5 separate regions of the Homo sapiens genome follow, and regions 2, 3, 4 and 5 are each linked to region 1. The links are contacts of gene promoters, found by promoter capture Hi-C in blood cells and fetal thymus (Javierre and others, 2016). All regions are on one chromosome and are shown on one strand. The core of a region is centred on a gene start or on the middle of the fragment in contact, and the rest is flanking DNA. Distances in the headings are between cores, read along the strand shown.

What was found. The method cuts DNA at HindIII sites, captures the fragments that hold promoters and counts their contacts. A CHiCAGO score of 5 or more calls a contact.
Region 2: a contact is called between a fragment that was not itself captured here and the fragment with the promoter of CCNJ in region 1, in 1 of 17 cell types (fetal thymus). The highest score is 7.5, in fetal thymus.
Region 3: a fragment that was not itself captured here is called in contact with the fragment with the promoter of CCNJ in region 1 in 2 of 17 cell types (naive CD8 T cells and activated CD4 T cells); the score reaches 7.1 in naive CD8 T cells.
Region 4: a contact is called between a fragment that was not itself captured here and the fragment with the promoter of CCNJ in region 1, in 1 of 17 cell types (total CD4 T cells). The highest score is 5.0, in total CD4 T cells.
Region 5: a contact is called between a fragment that was not itself captured here and the fragment with the promoter of CCNJ in region 1, in 1 of 17 cell types (activated CD4 T cells). The highest score is 5.4, in activated CD4 T cells.

Annotation. Positions count from the first base shown.
Region 1 is chr10:96,042,269-96,046,190 of GRCh38, reverse strand. CCNJ (cyclin J) reads right to left here and starts at 2,608. Exons shown (of 6, transcript NM_001134375.2): 1 at 2,472-2,608; 2 at 1,729-1,838. The coding sequence starts at 1,797. The region is part of intron 2 of ENTPD1-AS1 (ENTPD1 antisense RNA 1); the gene reads left to right. RefSeq lists silencers at 2,328-2,897, 3,025-3,219. The HindIII fragment of the contact is 7,328 bases long and covers 1-3,908 here.
Region 2 is chr10:96,331,265-96,335,329 of GRCh38, reverse strand. DNTT (DNA nucleotidylexotransferase) reads right to left here. Exons shown (of 11, transcript NM_004088.4): 9 at 2,734-2,979. Among named protein-coding and RNA genes, the nearest start is that of OPALIN, 26 kb to the left of the region's middle. The HindIII fragment of the contact is 8,239 bases long and covers 1-4,065 here.
Region 3 is chr10:95,681,291-95,685,124 of GRCh38, reverse strand. It overlaps TCTN3 (tectonic family member 3), which reads left to right. Exons shown (of 14, transcript NM_015631.6): 9 at 501-626; 10 at 1,496-1,603; 11 at 1,930-2,024; 12 at 2,321-2,474. Among named protein-coding and RNA genes, the nearest start is that of TCTN3, 11 kb to the left of the region's middle. The HindIII fragment of the contact is 8,509 bases long and covers 1-3,834 here.
Region 4 is chr10:95,699,376-95,703,533 of GRCh38, reverse strand. It overlaps a transcript of ENTPD1 not described here. Among named protein-coding and RNA genes, the nearest start is that of TCTN3, 7.5 kb to the right of the region's middle. The HindIII fragment of the contact is 7,434 bases long and covers 1-4,158 here.
Region 5 is chr10:95,644,928-95,648,897 of GRCh38, reverse strand. The region is part of intron 2 of ALDH18A1 (aldehyde dehydrogenase 18 family member A1); the gene reads left to right. Among named protein-coding and RNA genes, the nearest start is that of ALDH18A1, 9.8 kb to the left of the region's middle. The HindIII fragment of the contact is 3,798 bases long and covers 1-3,675 here.

The sequences.
Region 1 (3,922 bases), core at 1,359-3,858:
GTTCATAAGCAACTTGAGTGAGTATAAGGTTGGGTCTTATGCCTTGGATGCTCCAGAAACTAATCCACAAAAGCCTTCAACAAATCTAAATCTAGGAGAAAAAACAAAAAAACAAAGAACCCATGTCCAAACTCAATTGACAAAATGCAGATAATCACTCACGAATTAAAATGATCTACACATAAAATGATTGAAAAGTATGGAAATCACCAAGAAAAACCTTTTAAGTTTCATGCCAATTAAAAAATATACTCTTGGCTGGGCGCAGTGGCTCATGCCTGTAATCCCAGCACTTTAGGAGGCCGAGGCAGGTGGATCACCTGAGGTCAGGTGAAACTCCAACTCAAAAAAAAAGTACTCTTAATATCAACTAATTAATTTCACTACATACCAGAGGGATAAAAAGGCTGACACTTAAAACACTTTTCAAAATATGTGCAACTATATTAATTTTTTTAAAAAAGAAAACATTTCACATTGAAAGATGACATCTGCCAAAAAAAAAAAAGATCAAAAGTGTATCTGGACAATTTTCCAAGAAACTGCAACTCTTTCCTAACTAACACTCCAGAGATCCCATTAGTTAGAATTTTTATGTGGTATAAACCATCTCCTAGGGGGCTGAACTGTATTTTAGTGAATCTAAGAGACTGAATGTCAGAATTAGTTAAGTAGCATTTAGAAATCTCAGGCCTAGAAAAGGGTAACAATTTAAGTCAGAATTAGGTTTTCCAATCTACTTGACCTGGTCAGAAACTCAAGATAAAAGTTCATTATCATTCCAGGATCTCAACCCCAAGAGTCAGAATCCTTTTTATTGAAAGTCAGCTGTTTTGCTTCTTTCTCAATTTTCTACATTTAACAAATGGCTTTCTTTATCCAAGGTGAAACTGAGTTAAGCTAGAGATCATTTTGGATCTGGTCTCTCTTTTGGTTATCGAAGAGGCAGAAATGTCTCATTAATCTGCCTTGCCACATGCAGAGTAAAACCGTTACTTAATAGCAACAATACACAGACTTTGCTTTGTGTTGGAAAAGTATTTTTTTCCAATATCTATTAAGTCTACTTTCTGCCTTTGATATCAGCAGGAAGGGGCAGCCAACTCCCTCCACTTTAGGGCTTTTGAACAGCCCAAATCCTGAGGGGTAAGTGATAAGAAGTTATCACTTAGTGCTTACTATATACCAAGAGCAGTTTCTAAGCACATGTACGGTACTAACTTAAGTTTCACAATCGCCAGAATCATAAGGCACACTCATTATTCCTCATTTTACAGATGAGGAAATCAAGAAACAGAAATTTCACTTGTCCACGTCTCACGGCAAGTTAGCGGAAAGGCTGAGGAATTTATGTACAAAAGCGACTTAAACTGGCTGCATGCAACGGCAACTCTCGAACAAAGAGGGCTGTTCTGCCCAACAAAAATTCAGTGTATATATCTTTTAAAATACAAGATCAAATTCATGACCCACCTGGAAGCCAGAACGCCCCTTTCCACCTTCCCTGGCCCAACTACCATCTCCCTACTCATTCAGGTTGCAGGTTCTTTTGATACATCCCAGAGAAGGAGCCAAGAAGTTAATTAACCTTGAGCAAATGAGCAAACTCGCCTTTTCTGGCCCGGAAGATAGTGAGTAAAGAACCTGACTAGACCTTCTAGAGAGCCGAGATTCAGAACAACTGGCGCGACACACAGAAGGAGAAGGCAGGCCGGGCCTCGGAGTTACCTTGTAGCGAAGCGCTTGGTGAATATCGGCGGCCAGCTGTCCTCGCCACCACTGCCCCTCCAGCTCCATGGGACCCGGCGGCGCGCCCAGCCCGACGCGGCAACTCGAGTCTGTAAGACACACCCCAGGCGCGGTCACTGCCGGCTCCCCCGCGACCCTCTGCGCCCCCTCCCCGGGGGGTGTGACCTCAGGCCACCCGGTGTGGCTGCTCATCTTCACTTGACTCTTCCTCAACCCAGCCCGACCCGAGTCGTTTCCCCCAACGCCACACGCGAAGCCGGGTCTGCCCCCGCAGGAAGAGCCGAAGGACTCTGAGACTCACTGCTCGACTATGTGTCGGGCAAAAGGGGATCCACTCGGGCCCTGAGTTGCCAAAGCGCGGAGCCAGGTGCGAGCTCGGGAAGAGCTGGGGGAGGCCCGGCTGGGGCTCCCTGCGTCCGGGGCTGGAGTTCTCCCGCCCTCCCTGAGGAGCGGGGAGAGGTGACACGCTCATAGCCCCGCTGAGGGGAAACGCTCCCATGGCAAAGCCCGGGGGTGAGCGTCTGCCTGGCCGCGGGTCTCCGCATGGACGTCGGGAGCCTGCTCCTCCCCGGGAGCCCCGAGAAACGCACGTTCCGCGCGGCCTCAGAAAGGGGAACAAAAGGCCGGGCCAGCCAGGCTCTGCGCCTCACCCCGGGAGGGTCCGCTGCCCCACGCCTACCCCAGGCCTGCCGGGCCGCCCGGCCCCACGCTGGCTCCCTTACCCGGAACCGCGGCCCTCACAGCCCCAGCCCCGCCGTCGTGCGGCGGACGCCGGCCCCGCTCATGCTGCGGACAGTGGGCCGCTAAGCGCCGGCCTCAGCTAGAGCCCAGCGCCTGGACGCTCGCGCCGCCCATTGTTAAAGGACCGGCAGGCGGCTCCGCATACAAAGCCAGCGCGGGGGCACTTGAGGCCCCGCCGCTGCCAATCTCGTCTCGCGATACAGCGGGGTCGCCCCGAGCCGTCCAATTGGCGGCCGGGCCGGGCCCAGGTGCAGCGCCAGGCGGCGGCGCGGCGGCTCCCGCCTGGGTACGGTCAGCATCCCGCACGGCGCGGCGTGGCCTGGGCTGGCCTGGCGCTTCGGTTGCCGGGGCGCTCAGCCGCCACCTACTGCGAAGCCGGCCTGATCGCCGGCTGAGGTCGGCAGAGAGCGCCGGAGAAATTGTAAGGTGGATCACTGCAGTGACCAATCCAGTTAGGCCACTCACCTGCTGAGAACCTTCGATGGCTCCTCGATGCCCGCGGAGCAAAGTTCCGACGCCTCAGTTTGGCGTTTAAAAGTCTTCACGGCATGGATTCGGTTTACCTTACTTCACGTTGCACCAACCGCTTCCATCCCAGGGGCTGCTCCGTGGATCATCAGGCCCTCCAAATGTGCTTTAGCTGTTTCTGCAGCCCCTGAAGCGTTTTTTTTTTCCTGTGAAATTATGCTCTTTTTTTAAGTTCCACCTCAAACTCCACCTTTCTTCTAGAAACCTAATTAATCTCTTCCCCCTCCTTATTTTCGTTGCTGTAGGGATTCCCAAGAGCTTTGAATGAAGACATTTAAGATTACTTCTAGTAACCTTGCTTGTCAAACCCATGGTGGATGTAATTAACCATCTGTGCTCGTAAATCAGGAAACTGCAAAACTGTGAGAACACTCCGACGTCAATTGAGGTGATATGGGGGCTGAAATGTGATTAGAGGAAACCTAATCAATTGTATTTTAACCTCTTTGGTGGATTATCACAAAAGAGGTGGATGGTAACCCTAGGACAGTGAGACTGTCCACTTTTCTGAGACTGGAGATCAATCTCTTAATAGTAAAACGTAAATATTTTTAAAACTTCACCCCTTTTACTTTGAATCCTTTGTCCAAAAAGATACATGATGATAAAGAACTACTACAAAGTGATAAATACATTTTATGTGATTCTGGGTGGCATCTTCATTTGAAGATCATCAGCAGACATGTATATGAGCCGTACCCTATCCATAGACGATGCTTATACCCAGGAGAGCAGGCCCGCAGGAACCAAAGGCAAGAAAAGGGAAACTCAGAAGCTGAAGTTGGCAGATCCCGGCCTAACCCGACATAGTCCAGGGAGAAGGCTGCCCTGGCCTGTCTCTCAGTTGCAGGGTCCTCTAGAGTGAAGGTAGACACATCAGGCTAAAAGCTTCATGCCATTTTTA
Region 2 (4,065 bases), core at 379-2,878, 290 kb before region 1:
ATGCCATGAAACTGATCGTCTAAGTCAACTGCTCCTGGATGACATCTCCCACAGTCAGGAATGGGCTCTGAGACTGAAGGGAGCAATACATGAAGCCTAAGACAGAGGACAGGAACACCTTGGGAAAGGAGGGCAACGAATTGTCATGGAGACTAGTTTTCCTGAGAGAAACACAATCTAGAAATTTTGTCCTCTTCATGTGGGAGTAGGGAGCAAGCCTGGGATACTGGTGCCCTCTAGTGGTAAGGAACAATTTGCTATTTTAGGAAAGCTCACCCGGGATGGTTGAGGAGATGGACTTTGCAATCAGAAGTCCTTTATTTGTTTAAAGTCACCCAGCTAAAAAGCAAAAGAGCTTAGTGCTCTGCCAGTGCCTTGCAGAACCAACAGCAACAATTTCTGAGTACTCTGAGGAAACAGACTAGAATGTGTTGAAAACATGTCCATCTTAAAAATAAAATGGGCAAATGTCAACCACTTCAGCCAGTGATGCTTAACTGGCATGACATTGCATAACCAAGGACTTCTTTCTGGAACGTTCCCCTTTCTCAATCAACTATGTGTTCCCAAAGATTTATGTCTATCAGACAAGTTGCATTTATGATATATTTTTTCTTTTCTTCCCCTTTTTTTAGGAATGAAAAAAGCATTTAGTTGTCAGTCAACATTTGTGATTAGAGTAAGAAATCCCAGTGCTAAGATGCTGTGCTGAATTAATTCCAGTCCAAAGCAAAGACACCTGACATTTAACCCACGGCTGAGAACAATTAATTTGTGTTGTGTCATTCATCTGTATAAAAAACCCTCTACGAACCCATTTCACTCAAAGCAACAACCAGCTACCTGGGAAAACAGGAGAAACAGGGTGAGGTGTTTAGTTGGGAGGGTGGAACACATGCGAATGGGACTCAAATCACAGGTGTCCTCTCCTGTGAGTGACAGGATATGGAAGCTACTACTTATCCAGTACTGGCCACGTGCTGGCTTGGTGCTGAGGCTTTGAGAACATCATGTCACCTAATGTCTCTGCAACTCAGGGAAGTAGCTAAGGTCATCGTCCTCATTTTCCTGACGGGAAAATTGAGTTTTACAGGATATAGAGAACTTGTCCAAGATCACCCAACAGTAAGAAGCAGTGCAGGAGCTTGCAACCAGGTCTGGGATGAACTCAACTTGTGCTCTTTCAGAAAAATTTTATAGCTTGATTTTATTTTTAATTAACATATAATAATTGTATGCATTTGTGGGTTATAATATGATATTTTGATACATCTATATACATTGCAGAATGATAAAATCAGACTAATTAGCATGTCCATCACCTCAAACTTCTACCATTTCTTTGTGGTAAGAACATTAAAAATCCTCTCTTTTAGCTACTTTGAAATATACACTTTTATTAACTATAGTCACCATACTGTGCAATAGAACAGAGTTTATTCCACCTGTCTGACTGGAACTTTGTACTTGTTGACCCTTTTCCCTGTCCATTTTCTGTCCTCATCCCCCAGCCTCTGCTAACCACCATTCTACATTCTATTCTGTACTTCTACGAGTTTGACTGTTTTAGATTCTACATATACAGAAACGAGATCATACAGTATTTGTCTCTCTGTGCCTGACTTATTCCACTTAACATAATGTCCTCTAGGTTCAACCATGTTGTCTCAAATGACAGAATGTCCTGTTTTCGAAAGGCTGTGTCATACTCCACTGTGCATATACTACATTTTAAAAATCCATTCATCTGCTGTGGATGCTTAGGTTGTTTTTATATAATATCTTGGCTATGGTGTATCATGCTGCAATGAACACGGGAGTGCAGACCTCTCTTTGACATACTGAGTTCATTTCCTTTGGCTATATACCCAGAAGTAAGATTGCTGGATCATATGGTAGCCCTGTTTTTAGTTTTTTGAGGAACTTCCATACTATTTTCCAAAATGTGTAATTTACAACACCACCAACAATACAAGAGGGTTCCCTTTTCTCCACAGCCTCACTAACACCTGCTGTCTTTCATGTTTTTGATAATAGCCAATCTGACGGATGTGAGATAACATCTTATTGTGGTTTTAATTTGCATTTCTCTGATGATTAGAGATGTTAAGCAAGATGGCAATATCTGCTTGCCATTTATATGTCTTCTTTTGAGAAATATCTATTCAAGTCCTTTGCCCATTTTTAAATAGGATTATTTGTTTTCTTGTTATTGAGTCTTTTGGTTTCCTTGTATATGCTGGATAATGGCCCTTATGTGATGTATGATGTGCAGATATTTTTTCCCAATCTGTGAGTTGCCTCTCCACTTTATTAATTGTTTCCTATTTCAATCCCCTTGCTGGTTTCTGTACTTCAGTGGTTCTCCTACTTGAGCTGCATCAGAAACACCTAGAAGCCTTTTCCAAACAAATTTCCGGGCTGAAATCCCCAGAGATGCTGATTTGATTCCATAGGTTTGGAGTGGGGTGAAGAATTTCCATGTCTAACCTGTTCCTGGGTAAGGTTGCTGCTGCTGGTGTTGGGGACCACACACTGGGAATAACTGTTCTAAATTAATCTGTCATACTTGGCCATGTGTGGACAGGATGCCTTGAGTTAGAGGTTTCTGGGTACTGGCCCCTCCCCTGTCACCCAGCCCCTGTTGCCGTCATCTCTCCCCTGGGCCCAGGTAGACTCGGCCTACGTCTTTCAGAAAGCTAACATCATCCCATGGGTCCATGTAGCACTTACCCGGGAGCCAGTCCATCCCAACAGGGCAAAGGCACGACGCTCGTAGGGGCACAGAACTAAATCCACACGGATGGCCTTCCAGGTCTTTCCTTCCTGCCAGCTGGACTGGTCACTGTCCACTCTTTGACGAGGCAATTTGAAAATCAGAAAGCACTTTTGAAAATGATCCAAAGCATCAACCTTCCTGCTAGGCAACCTGAGCTTTTCAAATGTTGACTCCACAAGGTCATAATATAAAAGTAATCCCTGAAAAGAAACAGAATGGCATCAGGAAAAGGCCCTGATGAAGAAGATCTATGATTTAACACTGGATTCTTAATGAAATCTTTTCAGATTCGAGCAGAACATGGACATGTGTTTGGCCTTGCATTAAAGGCCCACCTGCAAACACTAGGAGAAAACACTAAGAAAGTGGTTGCATTATCTTCCCTTTACGGAAAAGGAATTTAGCGATGAGAGAGGCTGAAGCAAAGCCACTTAATGGCAAAACTGCAAGAAAATCTCCCTCTCCACTTCTGAACCTCAGCTAGTGCTCTGGGCTCTCCTCAGTCCTTTAAAAACAAACCAACCATAAACAAAAAGCCACGCTGCAGGAATTTGAGACCAGCCTGGGTGACATAATAAGACCTCATTTCTACATAAAATTTTAAAATTAGCCAGGTATGATGGCACGTGTCTATAGTCCCAGCTACTCAGGAGGCTGAGGTGGAAGGATCCCTGGAGCCTGGGAGGTTGAGGCTTCAGTAAGCTGTAATCACACCAGTGCACACTAGCCTGGGAGACAGAGCAAGACCCTGTCTCAGAAATAAATAAATAATAAAACTTAAAAAATCATATTGTTTCTGGGGAGCAGCTTTGAGTTAGTGTCTGCTATAGTTTGGATGTTTGTCCCCCTAAATCTCACGTAGAAATTTGATCCCCAATGTTGGAGGTGGGGCCTAATGGGAGGTCTTTGGGTCATAGGGGAAGATCTCTCATGAATGACTTGTGCCGTCCTCATCCTCATGGTAATGAGTGAGTTCTCACTTTGTTAGCTCCCGTGAAAGCTGGGGGTTACAAAGAGCCTGGCCCCTCCCCACTCTGTCTTGCTTTCTCTCTCACCCTGTGACCTCGGCACCTGCCAGCTCTTCCTTGCCTTCTGCCATGAGTGTAAGCCCCCTGAGGCCGCACCAGAAGCAGATGCTTGGTGTCGTGCTTCTTATACATCCTGCAGAACCATGGGCCAAGTAAACGTCTTTTCTTTATAAATTACCCAGCCTCAGGTGTTCCTTTATAGCAAGGTAAATGGACAAAGACAGTGTCCCTTCATATTATACTGATGACCAGGTTTAA
Region 3 (3,834 bases), core at 824-3,323, 360 kb after region 1:
ACTTGTATTCCTCTGTTCTCTAAACAATCTAACCTTAAAAAGTAAGAATTATCTTAAAGCATCTTCTTAAAGACTATGCTCAGAAATTTAAGGTTACTTTCAATTGCCTGCAACTTGTATCCCCAGCAATGATCTTTATTAATTCTCAAACATTGTGAGAGCCAAGTAAACCAGATTTCTGTTCCATGCTCACCTCTGCCTGTTTCTACTTGCCCTCCTCTGTCCGTAATCAACTTATTTTTCTTCCCTTTCAGTTCCTACCAAAAACTCACCTACCCGTGAACCCTTTTAAAGAGCTCTATCCAGTTTCTTTTTCATATACAAATATAATATGAAATCATCTTTATCTTTCATAGTATTTGTGTTTGGCATTTTTAACATTACTGTTTCAGTCTGCCTCATTTAGTTATAATAACACCCTTGAAGACAGAAAATCTTCTGTCCTAAACATATTCGGCCCAATAACTACTTTTTATTAATTGATTCTTTTTGCATTTCAGGTCACCTATGAGATAGAGACCAATGGGACTTTTGGAATCCAGAAAGTTTCTGTCAGTTTGGGACAAACCAACCTGACTGTTGAGCCAGGCGCTTCCTTACAGCAACACTTCATCCTTCGCTTCAGGGTTAGGGCCCTTCTCTTATAGGGGATTTAGAGGGGAAGAAATATTGGGTTAGAAATAATTTCTTTGCTTCTGTAATACATGTGAAATAGAATAAGAATATGAAGGCCTAGTTCAGTCTGTCGATTGAGGCCTCAACATTTAATATTCCATAATTTTACTACAAGTTGTGGTTATTCTACAAGTCTTTACTCATTAAAATTTTCTCCAATTCTCTGTCTGGCCCCCAACAAAGCAGGACTTCAATCTAAAATCAAAACTTTTTTTATAGTCATTTTGAATCATAAATTCAGCCAACACCTACAAAAATTCTTTAACTAGCTGTTCTCATATTTCTGGGCAGTCAGCATTTTACTCATTTCCCACTTAATCTGAGTGTTCACTCTTAATCACTGCCATTTGGCTTTCTGCTACTTCTTTCCTCTTTTTGAACCCAGCATAGATTTTCTCAACTCTACCCTCAGGTGATCAACCAACTGCTGTGTCTCTCAGAGCTCATCTCTGGAACATCTGTAGTTAATTAAAATATATATTTTTTAATTACATTTAAATTTTTCAGATTTTAACCAGGCTGTGTTATTATTGCTAAATTGCTAGTAATTTTTAAGGGATCCTTAGTAGATTCTTGGTTGTAATCCTTGGTAAAAGTAGCGTATTATGAATTTCAATATTCAGATCATGAAGGATTTATTTTAGTAAATTTAAAAAAGTGAAAGAAGCAAAATGCTACACTGTGGAAAGAAGCCAGATTGTTCAGTGTAGCTCACTTATTGCATTTCCTTGCCTTAAGGAAGGGTACGGTGAAGCCAAGCAGTGGGAGGTGGGAAAGTATGCTTATCTCCATAATTGACTTCTCTTCCCTCTTTCTGCAGGCTTTTCAACAGAGCACAGCTGCTTCTCTCACCAGTCCTAGAAGTGGGAATCCTGGCTATATAGTTGGGAAGCCACTCTTGGCTCTGACTGATGATATAAGTTACTCAGTATCCTTTTTAGAGCTGGGTGGCCTGTTGCAGCCTAATGAGAAAAGCTGCAAAGGCTTTCAAACTTATGTTAGACTAGCCAAAGGTGAGGAATTTTTTGTTCATTATAATGAGGTACTTATATACTAATATATGGTTAATCATTTTTGGAATCTAGTTGTCTCTCTGTGGTTTTCTGAGGAAAAAAATCACAAATTTGTGACTCGAACATTATGATAGTAATACAAAATAAATAGCATTAAAGGAGAATGAGAACATAAATTTTGCAATGCTGCCTCCTTTTTTTTTCTGTTATGATGTCCTTGATCATCACTTTTCCACCTTGGATGACCCTCTTACAGAGCCAGGGTAATGGAAGTTGCTCTGTTAAAAGACATGAAGTGCAGTTTGGAGTGAATGCAATATCTGGATGCAAGCTCAGGTAGTTCTTTGCTTCCGCATCATTTCCTGCAATTTCGGGAATATGTAGGGAATATGTTGATATGGTAACTTTTATATTTTTAATGACAGTTCGGAAAATGCTAGTCAGGAATAGTCTTTTAGTCTAAATAGTGTTGATATTGCTAAGAGTTTTCTGGCAATTGTTAATACCTACTAAGGATTATACCCTCTGGTCTATTTTATATTATTTCCAATGTTTGGTTTAACATACCGTACTAATATAGGTATATTATTATGTTAGCATTGGACTGCAGCCTCCATGGTGTTTAATTATAGGTTGAAGAAGGCAGACTGCAGCCACTTGCAGCAGGAGATTTATCAGACTCTTCATGGAAGGCCCAGACCAGAGTATGTTGCCATCTTTGGTAATGCTGACCCAGCCCAGAAAGGAGGGTGGACCAGGATCCTCAACAGGCACTGCAGCATTTCAGTAAGGAGAGAAATATACTTTCTGATGAAGACTCATTTTTACCCCTTTGTAAATCTTGGATAGTAAGTTTAAAACCAGCCTTGTCTCCATAGATAATGCATTTGTCATAGAAGGAAGAGTATAAGAAATCATGCCCACTTGAAGCCTTTTTTTTTTTGAGATGGAGTCTCACTGTGTTGCCCTGGCTCGAGTGTGGTGGCATGATCTCGGTTCACTGCAACCTCCACCCCCCGGGTTCAAGGGATTCTCCTGCCTCACTCAGCCTCCCGAGTAGCTGGGACTGCAGGCACCCGCCACCACACCCGGCTAATTTTTGTATTTTTAGTAGAGATGAGGTTTCACTATATTGACCAGGCTGGTCTTGAACTCCTGACCTTGTGATCCGCCTGCCTCGGCCTCCCAAAGTGCTGGGATTACAGGCATGAGCCACCGCGCCTGGCCTTTTTTTTTTTTTCTAAGTCAAGATCTTGAACTCTTACCTAGGCTGGAGTGCAGTGGCACAATCATGGCTCATTGCATTCTCAACCTTCTGGGCCCAGGCTATCCTCCCACCTCAGCCCCTCGAGTAGCTGGGACCACAGGCACATGCCAGCATGCCTAGATAATTTTTTGATTTTTTTGTAGAGACAAGGTCTCAGTATGTTGTCCAGATGGTCTCAAACTCCTGGGCTCAAGTGATCCTCCTGCCTTGGCCTCCCAAAGTGCTGGGATTACAGGCATAAGCCACTGTTCCCAGCCTGAAGTAGTTATTTCAGGTTAGGTTTAAAATACCTAATGTATTTTCCTTACTTAGAAAAAAATTTGAAGGCAGATAATCTACAGATTTCTGTTGTTCAAAAATCTCATATATTTCAAATATTTTATATTCTTGAATATTTGGTCAGCACAGAGTTTCATGAGGTTAAAATTGTGCTCTTTCTATTGTAATTATAAAAATTTACATTTTTACAATTATTTACATGAAAATGCATTATCTGGTTAAAAATCAAAACCATATAGAATGATATGCCTTTCTGCATTTTGCAATTAATCCTCCTGGAGTACTGCATTAGGTATACCATATTTCTATTCTGGAAACTTTCGAGGCTCTCTGATGGCTTCCAGACTACTTGGATGCACTTCATAATCTAACCCTTACGTATCATCTTCTTTGACTTTACACTGCTCCTGTATTCAAATCCTTTACTTTAGCCACATGATCTGCTCAAGCCAGTGCCTACTAAGCAGCTCACACATAGGAGATACTCAGTAACTGTTATTTAGATTAATCAAGGAAGCCAGGTGCCATGGCTTACACCTGTAATCCCAGCACTTTGGAAGGCCGAGGCGGGCAGATCACTTGAGATCAGGAGTTTAAGAC
Region 4 (4,158 bases), core at 1,326-3,825, 340 kb after region 1:
CTTGGATTACAGGCGTGAGCCACCGCGCCCAGTGATATGTAAAGATCTTATACTATTTCAGATTTATTCCTGTGTATTTAGTGTTTCTTCAGGTAATTGTACATTTTATCATCTAAAAGTTTTACTTTATTATGGCTATAATATAGGAATACAATTGAATTTTCTATATTGACATTATATTTATTCTTTCCATTGCTCTTCATTTATTTCTGCATTTCCATGCATCCGTCTGAGATCATTTTCTCTTTAGCATGAAGAATTCCCTTTAGCAATTCTTTGTGTGGGTCTGTTAGTGGTAATTTTTCCCTCAGTTTTTGGTTTATAAATACATTTTTATCTTATCTTCATTTTTGAGGAATCTTTTGCTGGGTATACAATTTTAGGTTAGCTTCCTTAAAGATATTCTACTTTTTATAACTTCCATTATTTTTGTTGAAAAGTCAGGTGTAGGCCGGGCGCGGTGGCTCACACCTGTAATCCCAGCACTTTGGGAGCCCGAGGCGGGTGGATCACGAGGTGAGGAATTCAAAACCAGCCTGGCCAAGATGGTGAAACCCCATCTCTACTAAAAATAAAAAAAAAAATTTAGCCTGGCGTGGTGGCAGGTGCCTGTCATTCCCAGCTACTCTGGAGGCTGAGGCAGAGAATTGTGTGAACCCAGAGGCGGAGTTTGCAGTGAACCGAGATCGCACCATTGCACTCCAGCATGGGCGACAGAGTGAGACTCTGTTTCAAGAAAAGTCAGGTGTTATTGTTGCTGTTTTGAAGGTAATATGTCTTTTTAAGCTATACATTTTAAAGATTTTCTCTTTGTCAATGTTTGGGATTTGAGTAAGATATCCCCATGTATTATTTTCTTTTAAATTTATCTTGTTTGGGTTTTGTAGAGCTGGAATCTACAGATTGATAACATTCATTTATTTGGGAAAATATTCAGCCAAAATATCCTAATATATTGCTGTGTCTACCCCATTATCTCTCTCCTTTCCTTCTGGGGCCCAATTACATATCAGTATTTCTACCACTCTCCCCACATTGTCTCTTACATTCTTTTCTGAATTTTCAACACATTTTCCCATGTTTTATACTAGATCTTAACAAATAATCTAGTTTTTCAGTTCACTAATCCTGCCCTCTGCTGTGTTTAATCCACTGTTAAACCAATCTAAGAGTTCTCAATTTCCATTATTGTACTTTTCAGTTCTAGGATTTACATTTGATGCATTTTCATAGGTTTCAGTCTCTGGTGAAATTCTCCATCTTGTCAGCTATTTTACTGAATGTATATTAATCATATATATATTTTAAGTCTATACCAATTGTTATGACCTCTTATTGGGACCTAATATTATTAATTTGTGTTTTTTAATTTGATCTTCTAAACATTTGTCTGTTTATCTTTTCACATAACCAGCTATTGGTTTTATCAATTACTCTACTGATTTTTTATTTGTTTTTAATTTTTAATTTCCTCTATTATCTTTATGAATTCTCTTCTTTATCTTTTAATTTGTAATTTGTTTGCTTACTAAATTGTAAGATTAAGTTTAGGATTATTTTAAATATTTCTTTTTAAAAAATAAAAGTACTTGAAAATATAAAAGTTCTCTAAGTTCTATTGGCTTTGTTCTATGTATTCTAGTTGTTTAACTTTCATTTTTAATTAGTTTGTAATTTTTGTGTTTATTTTCTTTTAACTCAAGATTTATTCAAAAATGTGATTTTTTCCCTTAATTTCCAAGAGGATATTTTGCTGTCCTTTTATGTTAATTTCTAATTTTAATGCATTGTGGCAAGCAGAATGTACTATAAAATCTTTGCCTTTTTTCTCTTCATTGAGATTCCCTTTGTGGCATAATACATGGTCAATTTTTGTCAATGCTCCAAGTATGATTGAAAATAATTAGTACTATTTGCTTATTAGGTTCAAGTTCTACACCATCTATAGATAAATTGAGAATTTTAAAATCACTTATTTAAATCTTTTTCTCTATTTTTATTATTTAATCTATCTATTTATGGAAGAGGTATGATAAAAATCTTTTACTCTGATGGTGGATTTACCTAGTCTACTCTTTCCACTACTTATTTGCTTTTATATTTTAAAACAATGTCTTTAGATCCACAAGGATTCATTAATTTAACATCTTCTAGGTAGTCTGTAACTTTTATAAAGATGAAATATATATTGCCCTCAAATATAATTCACTTAGAATTTTATTTTTATCTTTATATTTTTAGAGATAAGGTCTCACTATGTTGCCCGGCTGGTCTTGAACTCCTGGTCTCAAGCAGTCCTTCTGCTTCAACTTCCCTTCCTGAGTAGCTGAAATTATAGGCACAAGCCACTGCACTAGGCTGGAATTCTATTTTGACTGTCATTACTATTACCACATCTGTTTCCTCCTTATTAGCATTTGCCTATTAAGATTTTATTTCTGGCTGGGCACGGTGGCTCAGGCCTGTAATCCCAGCACTTTGGGAGGCTGAGGCGGGCAGATCACCTGAGGCCAGGAGTTCGAGACCAGCCTGGCCAACATGGCAAAACCTCATCTCTACTAAAAATACAAAACATTAGCCAGGCGTGGTGGTGGGCACCTATAATCCCAGCTACTTGGGAAGCTGAGGCAGGAGAATTGCTTGAGCCAGGGAGGTGGAGGCTGCAGTGAGCCGAGATCATGCCACTGCACTCCAGCCTGGGCAACAAGAGCGAAACTTGGTCTCAAAAAAAAAAAAAAGAATATACTTCTTAATAGATGAATTAAACTTATTCATATTTATTGTAATTATTTATATATTTGGACTTATTTGTTTTATTGTTTTTCCATTTTCTTTTCTTTTTAATAGAGACAGAGATTTGCTCTATTGTCCAGGCTGGAGTGCAGTGCTGTGATCACAGGTCACTATAACCTCAATTTCCTGGGTGCAAGCGATCTTCCCAACTCAGCCTCTTGTGCAGCTAGGACTATAGGCACGTGCCACCATGCCCAGGTATTTTTTTTCATTTCTTGTAGGAACGGAGTCTCACTATGTTGCCCAGGTTGGTCTCAAACTCCTGGCCTCAAGTGATCCTCCAGCCTCAAGCGATCCTCCTGCTTCAGCCTCTCAAAGTGCTGAGACTACAGGTGTGAGTTCCTAATATTTCCTTAACCAATTTAATTCTTCCATTTTCTTTTTTTTTCCTGGAACTCATATTAATCAAACATTGGACTTGTAGATTTAATCCTCAGTGTCTCATATTTTCTATTTATTTATCTTTTTGTTCAATAGATTAGATGTCCTTATATTTATCTTCCAAAATTTTAAACAAAAAAGTTAATAGTTTTAATTTCCAAGAGCTTTCTCTTATTCTGATTGCTCCTTTGCCAAATATTCTGCTCTCATGAATGTTTTATTGATTACTTCTCAAATCTCTCTTATATTAACTAGTGTATCAATTTCTAGAAAGAATTCTCTATTTTTTCCTCAAAGAAAATATCTAGTTATAGGTCCTTTTGAGTACAAAGGCAAACTATTCCATATACCATATAGACCTTCGATGTATTTTCTTGATTTCCATCAACTTTACCTTTTATCTTCTCTCTTACTTGCTATCGCTAGTTCTGGCTACTCTGTGGTATTCTGCTGGAAGGCAGCTGTCTCCTTTGGCTGCAGTCCCTTTCCATGGATATTCTAGGCTGCTGCTTCTTCAGTCAATATCCTTCCAATTTCTTCAAAAATGTATGAAAAATCTTCCATACTGACCATGCTGATGGTCAACCACACCTCCTACTTTTTGTTTTTATAAATATATACCCTTTTAAGTCTTTTAACAGGTATTTTAATAAAATTTCAAAAGAGGGGTCAAATGTGCATCTTTCTTTCCTTCTTACCTCCTTTCTTTTCTTCTCTCTTTCTCTCTCTCAATCTCTCTCTTTCTTTTTTTTTGGACAGGATTTTGCTCTGTCACCCAGGCTGGAGTGCAGTGGCACAATCAAGGCTCACTGCAGCCTCAACCTCTTGGGCTCAAGTGATCCTCCCACCTCAGCCTCCTGGGTAGCTGGAACTACAGGTGTGCACTACCACACCTGGCTAATTTTTATTTTTTGTAGAGACAGGGTTTCACCATGTTGCCCAAGCTGGTCTTTAACTCCTGAACTTAGGCAATCACCCTGCCTC
Region 5 (3,970 bases), core at 527-3,026, 400 kb after region 1:
TTAAAACAACTGTCTGTTTAGGTCACAATTCTGTGGGATGGTATTTTGGACTGGGCTCAGCTGCACAGTGGTTCTGTGTCTGTGTCAGGTCTCAGATTGACTTAGGGCTGATTGTTGGGGATGAAGGGGCCTCTGCTGGGATGATACATCATGTACATTCCCTGTGGCTTCTCATTCTCCAGCAGGCTGTTCATTGCTGCTTTGCATGATGCTTGCAGGGTCCCCAGAACAGGAAGCATGGTAGCTACAAGTCCTCTTGAGATGTAAACTCAGAATTTATGCACTGTTCCTTCTGCCACATTTGTCAAAGCAAGTTACGGGGCCAGCTCAAATTTAAGAAGTTTGGAAGATTGACTCACCTGTTAATGGAGAAGCTGCAAAAGGATTGTGGCCATTTTTGTAATCTGGCAATGCTGGTAAATTACTCAGTTACTCTGAGCATCAGTTTCCTTATTTATAAAATGGGGATAATAATAATAATGAACTCATAATAATACCTAACTTATGAGGCTTAATTCATGAGAATTCAGTAAGATGATGATGATGATGATGATGATGATGATGATGATGATGATGAAGGTAGAATATGGAAAAGCTCAAACTATTTTTCCTCTGCTCTCACTCCATAACAACAATCAACACAGAAGACTTCTGTGACCAAATGTACGGGGTTGCAGTGGACATCAGTTGGGTATCCTCCAATTCAATTCTGACACTGTCTCCCTGAGGACAGCCCACAGGTTGAGGGCTCAGTCCCTCAAGATCATCCCCATCTTCCTAGTAGTCCTGAGTCCAGGCTTCTGGAACTTCTGACTGACTGGCTTCAAGTTGGGGTTCCCACAGTACCCTCTTTGGGCTTGATTGATTTGCTAGAGTGATGCAGAGAACTCAGGGAAACACTTAGATTTACCAATTTATTACAAAGGAAACAGATGAAGAGATATGTAGGGTGAGGTGTGTGGTAAGAGGCACAGATCTTCCATGCCCTTCCGGGGCACGCCACCCTCCAGGAACCTCCACATGTTCAGCCATCTGGAAGCTCTCCGAACCTTGTCCCCTTGGACCTCTTATGGAGACTTATTGGATAGGCATGATTGAAGCATGGGCAACTGTGTCGAAATGTGATTGAACAAAAAGAATGTGACCTGATACTAATAGACTGAGTGGGGTAACCCAGCAAGGCCTGTCTGTTCAGATTTTGTCTTGGTCTTCCTGTGCAATATTTCTTCCTCCAAGGTATGGGGCAGGACCCTCTCTGGACTGAGGGTCTTACAACCCACAATCAAATTAGAGTCCTGCCTTGAGTAGGTGAAAGGAGTTCAGGAGAATACCAGAGAGATTCTGTTTCCTTACACCAACATTATAACAAAAGACTGTAAAAAGGATTATTAGAGTTATAAGCCAGGGACCATGGATATATATGTCATGTCACAGTAAGTAACACTTTTTTTACAGTACCAGTTAATATTCATTGAGTATTTTGTGCCAATCTCTGTTCATGCATGAACTTGTTTTATCCACCCTACCAACCTTATGAGATAGTTAAGGAGACAGCAAGTAAGTGAAGGGGTTGAAATTTCACTCAGGCAGTCTGGCTCCAGAGCCAACACTTGTCCTTTTTACTCCTGTAGAAGGTGTATGAATACTTAGCACAACTCCTGGTATATAGTAAGTGTTCACTTCAGTATTTTTATTGATACTTATCCTCATTAGACTCATTCACAGAAGGAGGCACTTTCTAATTGTTTCCCTAGGTTTTTGAATTTGGGGATTTGGATTTTTCTGGAACGTGGAGCTCTTTCACTGACCATGATAAGCAGAATAGCAGAGGGAAAAAAAAAGAAAAGAAAGGCAAAATGAGAACGCTTGTGGAGATAAACAGAGAAGGCAATGGAAGGCCAGAGAGAAAAAGAGTAGTCATGTCTGGGTCCCTTCTTGTTGAGGCCTGGAACACAGCCTCATTGGTTACTGGGCATAAGGATTCTGATGCTGAAGAAGTAAAGGGTTCTCCTCTGTCAGAGTGGTAAGAGTATAATCCGTGGCCCTTAAGAAGAACATGGACAACCCCTCCCATCCCCCACCATGCCACATCTGTACACACATACACTTCAGTATGCCCTCATACCTACTAAGAGGGGACAGATTTTCTTTGGAACTTAGAGCCTAAAAGTTCCTTAGAAGATGGGAAACAATTATTTCTCTAGAAGCCTTGAATTTTCCTAACTAATCAAGGCCTTCTCAGTTTTCAATATGGACCCTAACAAGTATAATACATTGTAGAACATTAAAAAAATACCCCCAAGAAAGGTAGGGTCAGCCTTGGAAGGTAAAAGGCGTTGTTCAATAGGAAACCCAACAAGCCCTGAGTCCCCTGAAGCTCTCCTTTGTGCTAGAACCTACTGGATTTGACTGAGTCAACTGCATGAAACCTTGTTGTTAGTGGTGACCTCCTCTTGAACCCTAACAGGCCTTATCTACTGCTGTTACCCTATTGTCTCCAGCCAGAATGACCCTTGACTACCTGGCACTGAACCATGCGACCCACCCTCTTCTCCTGATACAGACTGTGGGTTAGCCTCCTTCATGCTAGCCTGGCTGCTGGATTCTGATTGGCTTCTACCATTTGATCACCTGGACAGACATGCATGCCACTGCCTGTGTTCCTGAGGTACCCTCTCAGGCTGCTCCACCCATGCTCACCACCCTTCCAGGTCAGGATAGGCCCTCCAGCAGACAGGAGAGAAAGCCAGAAAGCCTAGATCTGACAGCTACCAAAAGGATAATACATGATACTTGGCATAGCTCTAAGCTCTGCAAACAGCCACTGATGATCCCTGGTCCAAACCCTAGGGGAGTAAGCCTGTCCCTCCACCACCCTTCTCTCTGGCAGATCAGTAAGACCAAACCATTAGGCATACAACTTTTAAACTTAAGACTTAGTTGTACATATTGCTTAGGATAATATTCCTGAAAGCAGAGTAGGGTACCTATATTATTAATAATTAACCCAATGAAGGAAAGTAGCACTCCATAAAACTTAGCCTCAACAACAAACCAGTCTTTTAGTCCCAGGGACTCCCACAGCAGGAAGAGACCGTGCACCTGTGGATCCAGCAATGCCATCGGAATCCCAGTTCCATCCCAGATGATGGCTTACCAAGCAGCTCTGTGCCAGGATCTAGATGCCAAGCCTGTTGTGAAAAAAAATCATATTATCTTTCTTATATCTCCACAAACCTGAAACATAGTCACTTGAAAAACGGTTATTTAAGGAAAGGCAGAAATGACTATTACTTCATTAGAAATGTTCTTTCTAAGATATGTGTGTGAAGGAGGCAGGAAGGGAGGAGAACCCATAGTCGCCTTCCCATTCATGAGAATAAGGTCCTGCCTGCTTTACCCACCATCAGTAGATTGTGGTTAGGGAGTGAGTTAGCGGCCAGGAGATAGTCAGAAGGTCTAAAGAAATTTTGAGAAAATTGTCTGTAATTTATAGACAGACAATATAAAGGGAAGTGATAGTGGTTCAAGTGAAGGTAGTTAACTCTCTAATAAAGTTATAGAACAGTGGTTCAAAAGGTGGCTTGGAATGATAATTTTAGTAATTCATTCAAATATTTATGAGTTGCTTGTAATGAGATATAGAAAAGTCTTTCCAGGGAATTGCTTAAAGCTTAGTCCTGCTGAGAACCTATGTTACCCACCTTGTCTTGCTTCTTGCTATCAGGGAGGAACGTCTATTTGCTTAAGTGCTCCTCTACCCCCCACTGATTGACAGCATCTTATCTCCCATGTAGGCCTCACACAGTCCATCTGCCTATGCACTCATTGTCCTTCTGTGTCAGTTACAATTATGTGCATGTAGCAGGAAACTCAGAATATTCATGGCTCAAACAGGATAGAAATGTTTTTCTCTCTTTCTCCTGAAGGAAGCCTAGCAGCCCTGCAAGAAGGTAGGCAGTCCAGGGCT